3 separate regions of the Homo sapiens genome follow, and all the other regions are linked to region 2. Evidence: promoter capture Hi-C in 16 types of primary human blood cells and fetal thymus (Javierre and others, 2016). All regions are on one chromosome and are shown on one strand. Each heading gives the region's core, a stretch centred on a gene start or on the middle of the fragment in contact. The rest is flanking DNA. Distances are from core to core; before and after follow the strand shown.

The links. Contacts are between HindIII fragments. The CHiCAGO score rates a contact against its expected background, and 5 or more counts as called.
Region 1: a fragment that was not itself captured here is called in contact with the fragment with the promoter of MOGS in region 2 in 1 of 17 cell types (M2 macrophages); the score reaches 5.3 in M2 macrophages.
Region 3: a fragment that was not itself captured here is called in contact with the fragment with the promoter of MOGS in region 2 in 1 of 17 cell types (total B cells); the score reaches 5.7 in total B cells.

The regions. Positions count from the first base shown.
Region 1 is chr2:74,236,836-74,240,227 of GRCh38, forward strand. SLC4A5 (solute carrier family 4 member 5) reads right to left here. Exons shown (of 31, transcript NM_133478.3): 21 at 2,500-2,700. Among named protein-coding and RNA genes, the nearest start is that of MTHFD2, 40 kb to the left of the region's middle. The HindIII fragment of the contact is 1,210 bases long and covers 696-1,905 here.
Region 2 is chr2:74,463,632-74,466,891 of GRCh38, forward strand. It overlaps MOGS (mannosyl-oligosaccharide glucosidase), which reads right to left and starts at 1,751. Exons shown (of 4, transcript NM_006302.3): 1 at 1,265-1,751; 2 at 865-1,091. The coding sequence starts at 1,616. RefSeq lists a silencer at 1,318-1,537. The HindIII fragment of the contact is 14,256 bases long and covers 1-3,260 here.
Region 3 is chr2:74,614,925-74,618,465 of GRCh38, forward strand. It overlaps M1AP (meiosis 1 associated protein), which reads right to left. Exons shown (of 11, transcript NM_001321739.2): 3 at 40-225. Among named protein-coding and RNA genes, the nearest start is that of M1AP, 32 kb to the right of the region's middle. The HindIII fragment of the contact is 1,812 bases long and covers 615-2,426 here.

The DNA of each region.
Region 1 (3,392 bases), core at 51-2,550, 230 kb before region 2:
TCTGTCTACATTCCCACCTACTGCTTTCCATCTCCAACATCTGGTGTCCCAAGACCTTCATCTGTCTACCAATCTGATGAGTATAAAATGGTGTGGCCTCATTCCTCTCTGCAACCGGAAATTCCAGAAGGCAACTGAGCAATTTTTTTTTTTTTTTTTGAGACAGAGTCTCTCTCTGTCGCCCAGGCTGGAGTGCAGTGGCGCAATCTTTGCTCACGGCAAGCTCTGCCTCCCGGGTTCATGCCATTCTCCTGCCTCAGCCTCCCAAGTAGCTGGGACTACAGGCGCCCACCACAACGCCCGGCCAATTTTTTGTATTTTTAGTAGAGACGGGGATTCACCATGTTAGCCAGGATGGTCTCGATCTCCTGCCTTCGTGATCCGCCTGCCTGGGCCTCCCAAAGTGCTGGGATTACAGGCGTGAGCCACTGTGCCTGGCCCAACTGAGCAATTTTTAAGTAATGTGACGGAAAAAATGTTGTTGGCACAAGAATTTCATGCCACATGAATTACTTTTCATCCTGTAGGCAACAGATAGATACTCTCAGATACAGTGACTGCTTGAGAATTTTTACATAAGAGGAGATTGAGGGATGTGCTCTGGACTGGAAGTGGGCAGGAAGGAAGAGAACTTGTCTTGATGGTGCATTTGTGTTGTAAGCAAACTATTTTTTTACTCAGTTTATATACTGTGAAGCTTCCTAAAGCACCTTTTATTTAGTCTTTAGAAAATCTGGGAAAAATTCAACTATTTATTTCAAAGATTTTATCATTATGATTAGTAGCAGTAGCAGCTGTAATACTTAGTTAAGATGGCTTTAGGAGACTGCTAATGGAGTTTACGGTGGGAAAGAGTTGCTTAAATTCTTCCGAGTACCCCCCACCCCACGGCACAGTTACTGCTTATGTATGCAAGTGCTGTTTTCATAAATCTTTTATTCCAGCCACAAACAGGTAGAAAATAAAATTTAAAACAGCAGTTAGGGCTGGGTGCGGTGGCTCACACCTGTAATCCCAGCACTTTGGGAGGCTGAGGTGGGGGGATCACCTGAGGTAAGGAGTTCAAGACCAGCCTGGCCAGCATGGTGAAACCCCGTCTCAACTAAAATTACAAAAATTAGCCGGGTGTGGTGGCAGGCGCCTGTAGTCCCAGCTATTTGGGAGGCTGAGGCAGGAGAATCACTTGAACCCGGGAGGCGGAGGTTGCAGTGAGCCGAGATCATGCCATTTCACTCCCACCTGGGTGACAGAGTGAGACTCTGTCTCAAAAATAATAATAATAATAAAATAATAATAACATAGCAGTTAGCATTTACGACGGTATAAAAAAATCAAGTACCTAGGAATAACTCTAACAAAAAATGTTCAAGACTTAAAGATCAAAATGTATAAAACATTATGGAGAGAAAGAAGACCAAAATAAATGAAGTATACTGTATTCATAAATCAGAAAAACTCAAAATTTGAAAGACGTTAATTCTTCCCAAACAGAGGCAAAGATAATCCCATCAAAATTCCAACAAGTTTTCATTTTGGTGAAATTTAAGATGATTCTAAAATTCATGTGGAAATGCAAAGGGCCAAGAAAATATTATATAAAAAGGACAAAAGGGGAGAGCTTGGGAGACAAAGATATAAAGACTTATAAGCTACAGAAATGAAGACTGTGATACTGATATATAAATAAACTAGTGAAACAGAATAAAGAACCCAGAAACAGACCCTGTCATATAGGAATATTTGATATATGGCAAAGGAAGTATTGCAAAGCAATGGAGAAAGAATAGTCTTTAAAAAATACTGGAACAATTGACTATATAAAATCACAAAGAAACACTGTCTCACAGTACACATCAGAATCAATTCTGATGGATTGTAGATCTAACATGAAAGGAAAAACAATGAAGCTTTTAGAAGGTAACATACAAGAATATCTGCTGTCCAATATTTGCCTTGAGGAAAGTTTGATATATTCAATTACAATAAAACTAAGAATTTCTGTTAATCAAAAGATGCCATTAAGGATGTAAAAAGAAAAAAACAGTCACAGAGTGGGAGAAGATTTTGCAACACATATAATCACAAAAACATTTCTACCCAGAATATATAACAAACTCTTGCAAATCAGAAAGGCAGACAACCCAAAATGTGCAAGAGATTTCAACAGACACTTCCAAAAAGAAAGGCAATTGGGCATGTGGCCAATAAACACAGGAATAGCTGTATTTTCAACTTCATTAGTCATCAGGGAAATGAAAAATTTAAAAAACACAATGAGATACTACTATAGACAAAGACTAAAGATAAAAGCCTGACAATACCAAGTGTTGTCAAGGGGACCAGCCAACAAGGGAACACAGTTCTCTCTGACTTAACTTGAAAAACCCCAGTGGGCCAGTGCTCGCATGGAGTCCATCCTGTCGGTGGACCAGAACCCTCTCTGGGGGACTCAGCAGCTGTCTGACTGCAGGTCCCCTCCTAACTGCAGGGTGAGCTTACCTTGGTAGGAAAATAGCGGCTGAATTTGAACTTCTTCAGGGTCAGGGTCATGGAGTATGTCCCAAAGAAAAGGATGAAGGACATGAGCGCCAGGTCTGGGATAAACTTGCAGGAATTCCCAAGCAGGCGCCCGCCGTAGCTCAGACACTCCTTCTTGCTCAGCAGGGACCAGTCCAACGCTGTGAGGTTAAGGAGGTTGTACTTGGAGACCAAGCACAGGAGAGAATGGGTCAGCATCTTCCTGATGAGTCAGCTGTGTCCTTCCCACTGCAGTCCCCAGGCAGCCAGCATACCTTCCCACCCTCTGAGGGACCCCAGCCCCCCAGAGTGATGTTCCTGGGGACGGGCTGGTTCAAGGAATGACAAGCTCCCTAGGAAGATTAGGAGCTCACATGTGTTTCTTCATTGTGTTCTAGGATGCACTGCTGTGCTAGCAAGTAGGAAAAGTGCAGAGGCAGGATGCCTGGCTCCCATCAACCAACCACAGGTCCTGTGGACGCCTCCTTCCTGGAGTGTCTCATCTTTATTCTCTCCCCTCCATCCCCTCTGTCACACCCTTTCATATATGGGGGATCACCTCCCTTGTCAGTCCCCTCTTGGGTCATTTCAGCCATTCCCCACCTTGGTGTCTCAGATGCCTAAAATCCAAGGCATACACAACAGTGAATTTTTATATATAAATTTATTTATATATACATATATAAATTTATATATATATATATATAAATGTGTACTGTGAGACACACTCTGATGTGTACTGTGAGACAGTGTTCCAAGCCCCACCCTCACCCCATCTTAGCTGGCCTAGCCCACCCACTAGCCTCTGCACAGGTTTTGTGCTTTTCCTCTCTTGCCCTTCTGTCTATGCTGTTCCTTCAGTCTGGAATGTGCTT
Region 2 (3,260 bases), core at 501-3,000:
AACTCTACACAGTTGATTTCATTTAATTCTTTTTTTTTTTTTTTTTTTTTGAGGCGGAGTCTCGCTCTGTCGCCCAGGCTGGAGTGCAGTGGCGCGATCTCAGCTCACTGCAAGCTCCGCCTCCCAGGTTCACGCCATTCTCCTGCCTCAGCCTCCCGAGTAGCTGCGACAATAGGCGCCCGCCACCACGCCCAGCTAATTTTTTGTATTTTTAGTAGAGACCGGGTTTCACCGTGTTAGCCAGGATGGTCTCCATCTCCTGACCTCATGATCCGCCCGCCTCAGCCTCCCAAAGTGCTGGGATTACAGGCGTGAGCCACCGCGCCTGGCTTTTTTTTTTTTCTTGAGATGGAGTTTTGCTCTTGTTGCCCAGGCTGGAGTGCAATGGCACGATCTCGGCTCAGCGCAACCTCCACCTCCCTGGTTCAAGCAATTCTCCTGCCTCAGCCTCCCAAGTAGCTTGGATCACAGGCATGCGCCACCACGCCCGGCTAATTTTATATTTTCAGTAGAGACGGTGTTTCTCCATTTTGGTCAGGCTGGTCTGGAACTCCTGACCTCAGGTGATCCGCCAGCCTCGGCCTCCCAAAGTACTGGGATTACAGGCGTGAGCCACCGCGCCCAGCCTCTTTTTCATTTAATTCTTACAGTCCTGTGAGTTAAGTGCTATTATTATCTACATTGTACATTTTACAAGCAAGGAAATCAAGGCTTAGAGATGGTAAATAGAAATGGTTATACAGGCAGTTGTTTAAGGCAGGATTTAAGCCAGGCAGCCAGAGCCCACTTCATGCTGCATTTGCTGGCAGCAAGGGAAGGATGGAGGGGGTCTGGGCTGAGAAAAGGGTGTCCTGAGGCCCTGACCTGAGGCTCTACAGTCACTCTCCAGCTCCAGTCCCCTCCGTGCTGACCCCCAGGCCTCTTGACGAACTCAGTGGTGAGCCTTAAGGCCCCATCCTGGATGTGTTGGCGCCCGAAGGAGAGGCCGTCGTGGAACTCCCAGCCATAGGGACCCACACCGTCCCCCTGCTCACACGTGTGCCTGAGCTTAGGAGTCCCCGGGGTGGTGCCCTGCTGCGCCCACATCAGTCCTGGGGGTAGAATGGCCACGTAAGTCAAAGAGCAGGGGACCTGTCCCTCCGGGTCTCCGGGTCATCCCTCTTCATAACTCTCCTGATCCATTCCTTCCCACCCTTGCTCTCGCTTCAAGCTGGGGCGCCCAGATTAGGAGTCCGCCTGCCTGCCCGCCCTGGGGCCCGGTTACCGGTGAGGAGGGGCTTCGGGCTGCGGGTCTTCATGCCGAAGTAGACGTGAGGGCGGTAGGTTCCCCAGAAGAGGTCCGGGGCCACGGCGGGGCTGGAGGAGTCGGCAGGCAACACAGGAGGCGCGGAGTGCAGCGTGACCGCCCGCCGCGCACGGTACCACGCCAGCACCCAGCGCCCCGACATACCCAGGGCCAAAGACAGGACCACGACGGCCAGAGCCACTCCTCCAGCCGTGCTACGCGGCCCGCCGCCCCGGCCGTCCCGTCGCCCGGGGCCTCCCCGAGCCGCCCTCTCGGCTGTCCGCACTCCCTCTGCCGGCACTGCGCGGCGCCGCCGCTCGCCCCGAGCCATCCTGGCACTGAGGTCCGCGTCACAAGAGCTCGGAGAGGCGGCAGTGGAGCCCGGGTCCTGCCTCACCTCTCCGGCTCCCGCCTCTCGCCCTGGCGACCACCGTCCGGTTAGCGACACCTGCCAGCCAGCGCCTGCGCCTCCGCCTCCGCCTCCCGCCGGAAGTCCCGCCCCGCCACGTTAGGTTAAGTCCCAGAGTCCGGAACCGCTGCCTGCGGCTTGACACAGGGTTGGTACGTAGCGTCTGTCCTGGGCGTTGGTCCACCGGGATTGCGTTTATCTGGCGACCCCATGGAGTTCACAGGCTCGGAAAAACCAATCTAACGTTGGGCTGAGGCATGAGAATCGTTTGAACCCGGGAGGCGGAGGTTGCAGTGAGCCGAGATTGTGCCACTGCACTCCAGCCTGGGCGACAGAGCGAGACTTCGTCTCAAAAAAAAAAAAAAAAGACTGATGTGGCCAGGCACCGAGGCGCACATCTGTAATCCCAGCACTTTGGGAGGCCGAGGCAGGTGGATCACCAGACATGAGGAGTTGGAGACCAGCCTGGTCAACTTGGTGAAACCCCATCTCTACTAAAAATACAAAAATTAGCCGGGTGTGGTGGTGGGTGCCTGTAATCCCAGCTATTCGGGAGGCTGAGGCAGGAGAATTGCTTGAACCTGGGAGGCGGAGGTTGCAGTGAGCCGATATTGCGCCATTGCACTCCAGCTTGGGCAACAAGAGTGAAACTGTTTCAAAAAAAAAGAAAGAGAGAGAGAGAGAGAGATGGAGGGAGGGAGGGAGGGACGGAGGGAGAGAGAGAGAGAGAGAGAGAGACTGATGCTTTATGCAACACGACCACTTATATTTCACTATAATCTGACTGGTGGCCCCACTCTCCACTAGTGGTAGACTTTTTGCTTATGAAATCATCTGACCAAACCCAATGGTTAGTCCTGTTTTTGTCTTTCTTGCTACCGTTGCATTTGTCGACATCCTTATTGTAGCACTTATTACATACCTGTTTCATTTTTCATCTTTGTATCACAGTACTAATCAATTATAGGCATAAGGCAGATGCTAAATATTTATAAATTCAACACATGTTTATTGTACACCCTATATCGCATTATGCAAGGTGCTGGGGACTCAGAGAAAATGGCCCCAACCTCAAGTTCACAGTCTAGAAGCACAATGCCAGCACTCAATGCATGTTGAACCATACCCATTTTTTTTTTTTTTTTTTTTTTGAGACGGAGTCTCGCTCTGTCACCAGGCTGGAGTGCAATGGCATGATCTCGGCTCACTGCAACCTCTGCCTCCAGGGTTCAAGTGATTCTCCTGCCTCAGCCTCACGAGTAGCTGGGATTACAGGTGCCCACCACCACGCCCAGCTAATTTTTGTATTTTTAGTAGAGATGGAGTTTCACCAGGTTTGCCAGGCTGGTCTCGAACTCCTGACCTCAGGTGATCCACCCACCTCGGCCTCCCAAAGTGCTGGGATTACAGGCGTGAGCCACCGCGCCTGGCCAGACCACCCCCATTTTTACAGATGAGGAGAGTAGTTAAGACTGACCCAAAATAACAGCCAGTTAATTATGGAGCTGGGGAACTCAAATCCAGGTTGTTCTTTTGACTTTAGAATAAGGCCTCTTAGGGCAGGCG
Region 3 (3,541 bases), core at 271-2,770, 150 kb after region 2:
GGAACACAGCTTGGAGTCCTAAAGGCCAGCATCACTTACCTCCAGGGAGGTATAGGTCAGAGCTGCCCTTGTGGTCACATGTCTGCTGTATTGTTTGAATTGCTGGAGCCCATCCTCTACTGCCAGCCGCAGAGAAGCACCTTGTGATCTGAAACACCCTTCTCTCTGTAACATGCGGAGTTCTGAGATGCAGGTCTGCAACCTAGCAAAGTTCCCTTTCACTTGCTGCAGAGAAAAACGAATCAAAGACACAAGTCTTTAGGGACCAGGTTTCAGATTAATTGGCAGTCTAAATTTATTATAAATAATTCCTCAGAAGTTCCTTCCCTTCCTGAAAATTTATTTGACCAACATCTACTGAATTCCTATTGTGTTCTAGCCACTGCACCAAAATCTTCCCTACACTAGCAGAAGGAAAATTTGCAGCCATAAAGGTTTTGATTACTTAGAGTTACCAGAAACATGAAAGGAAGTGTTTTAACTCATTCACTCACACAAAGGGAAATCCAGTTGTGTGACTGCTTAGTTTTACTTTGGGGTGACCTGCAAACTGGAGGCCAGACAGTGTTCACCTTAGACATCATCTTCATTTCTTAGTCAGTCTAGGCACCAAAAGCTTCTCTACTTAAAAATGAGGTTTTCCCAGAAGTGAGAATTTTGATGTGGTTGATCACTTCAGAATTCATACGTCCTATCTAATACGCTCTTTAGGATAACTTCAGTAAAGAAGAGATATTTGGGTTAGTCTGCAGTCAGCTTAAGGAGCCAACATGTTAAACCGAGACAAGCGACCTTTTGGTTCTCCTCATCTACCTTTATAAAAACTTGCTCTTAGGAGTCAACTAATTTAATCTGATACTAGGTCAATGTTACTTCTCCTAAGGATATATGCATTTTGATAAATGTGGACTGAAGATTTGTGACATCATTTGAAGGGATTCCATGCATCAATAGCAGGTGGGGGGTGGGGAAGAATTATATTTTGGGATGGGGACACCTTCCTGACCATAGAGCAGAACTGAGTGATATCTGTAATGCACATAAAATCCATGAGCATGAGCTGTAAACCTGCCAGAATACAAAGACTGCTTAAGTCAACACCTTCCTGGGCTTAGCTCCACAGTTGATATATTCTTCTCTCCCCAAGTCTTTGGGGTGAAAACACAAGGAATTGCATATAATTCTTACACAAAGAAAACTTGTAATCTAGAAAGGAAAATAAGAAAACTATCCGAGAAAGAAATTAGAAGAAATCACACCACAGGTGTAGCCTAGTAGGCTTTAAGCATTTCTTCTCATGTACCCACTAAAAGAATCTGAGAAACAATGTACCCCCTTATGCATTTTTAAGTGAACATCTATATTTTAAAATTCCAACTTTATAAGTGGTTGCTAACGATGTAACTTCCTGCATATTTTAAATATCAACATTTAAAAATAAAACTATAATATAACTCTTCAAAACAGTCCAATTGAATCTAAATGCCATGGTGATTTGATACTCACCATTATTCAGTGTTAAAAGTACATGAACAAGCTCTTTTTTTCCCAAGAGATAGAAATTTAGATTGTTCCTTTTTCTCCTTGAACTCATATTTCCATTTCACTTTCCCTGAGAGTTTTATCATAATGTAAAAGAATTTTTATGCTTGGCAACCTTTTATTGATCATCCCATCATACTTCTCTGCATCTAAAACAGCTATATTTTGCAAGAGTTCTAAGTTTCCTATGAGCATAGGCTCTAAGGGGCACTCTAGATTGAGTTATTATTAGAATTATCATTCATATACAATTTATTAAAACAACATGTATATACAAATTTTGAGAAATAATTATTGGCATTAAGCATAGCTTTAATTGGAAATGTTTCTCTTAATAATTGGAAATATTCCTCTTAATGGCATGGACAAGCTGGGCTCTTCTTTCAATTAGCTCAGGTTTGTGTGAATAAATAAAATAATTACTGATCGAATGACACAACATTCAGTATCAATTTTTATTCCTATTTTATTTATTTGGTGGCCAACATGGGTTGAGTTTATTGCATCATTATAAACAGAGAAAAATCTTGTTTTCTCTTGACCAGATACCCAAAAGGCTATAAAAGAAATGTAACTTAACTCCAATTTGAGAATATGTACTAAAAATTTTAAGCCTCACCTTGGTATTTTAAAAGACTAAATGTGATACCCTACAAGGCATTTTGATGTCACAAATTCATTCTATTACATTTTATATACAAAAATGCTACACCATTGTTCTAATTATGTGTCTGCAGTTGTACTACAACTATAGGACAGACACAGAATGATTCAAAATAGCTGGAATCTAAGCCTTACTTCTCAGTGATCAGGGCAGTCCAGCCTGGTGATGTCATATAGGGTGTCATTAGATGACACCCAGAACCAGCCACAACTTCGGACTAAGCTTGTTTGTGTCTACAATTGTGATGACATATTACTATGGATTTAACAATAAAAATTCCAAGCTAACGCAGGAACAGAAAACCAAATACTGCATGTTCTGACTTATAAGTGCGAGCTAAATGATGAGAACACATGGACACATAAAAAGGGACAACACACACTGGGGCCTGTCAGAGGGTGGAGTGTGGGAGGAGGGAGAGGATCAGAAAAAATAACTAATGGGTAGTAGGCTTAATACCTGGATGATGAAATAATCTGTACAACAAACCCCCATGACACAAGTTTACTTATGTACCTGCACATGCACCCTTGAACTTAAAATAAAAGTTAAAAAAATTCATACCATTTGTTTTAAGAGTGTCTGGGAAAAAATAAGCAATTATTCCATTTTGTGCCCTTCTCATGTTTTAAAATAAGCAATGTTCTATATTTCTATTATCGAAGGTTCAGAAGTAAAAACATTATAATAAATATACAAATCCTTGAAAACTCTTAGCATTTCTAGTGTTTAATACTCCCACTTCTTTGGCAATGCCGAATCTGCAAACTGACTGCTTAGTCTGTGCACATGTCAACTATGGAGAATGTGCATGTCCTGTGAATTTCAAATGGTTCTCTGGAGTAAAGCAAGAGATTGACCCATATTTTAAAGGTAACAGCAAACGTTTAACCTTAGGAACCAAGGACTCAAATTTGAAGCTACAGTCTTATTCTGATTAGCTTCTATGATGATATGGTTGGGGGGAATTTAGTAGCAAGTGAAGGTCAGGAGAAGATGTGGTACAAGGAAGGCAAGTGGGTAAGTGATATCAAGTGAGAGATGGGTGAAGGAATTCCATGATCACAGATGTAATCAGCAGCCACAGCAATGGACCTGTCTGCCCTGCTCTGCAGAGACCTCAGATGGAGCTCCCACCCCACATGCAGACAGTTCACCCCAGGCCAAGAGTGCTCAGCGTGCAGGGCCATGTCCTCCCACCAGACACCACCTGTACCTGTCAAGTGCCACCAATTTAAACTGAAAATACAAGTCAGTGAACCCTCTCTGTGTGAAGAAAAAGAAACAGCAGAAGAATGTTTTTAGCAGGTGAAAACCTAATGCTCTTCAGACTGT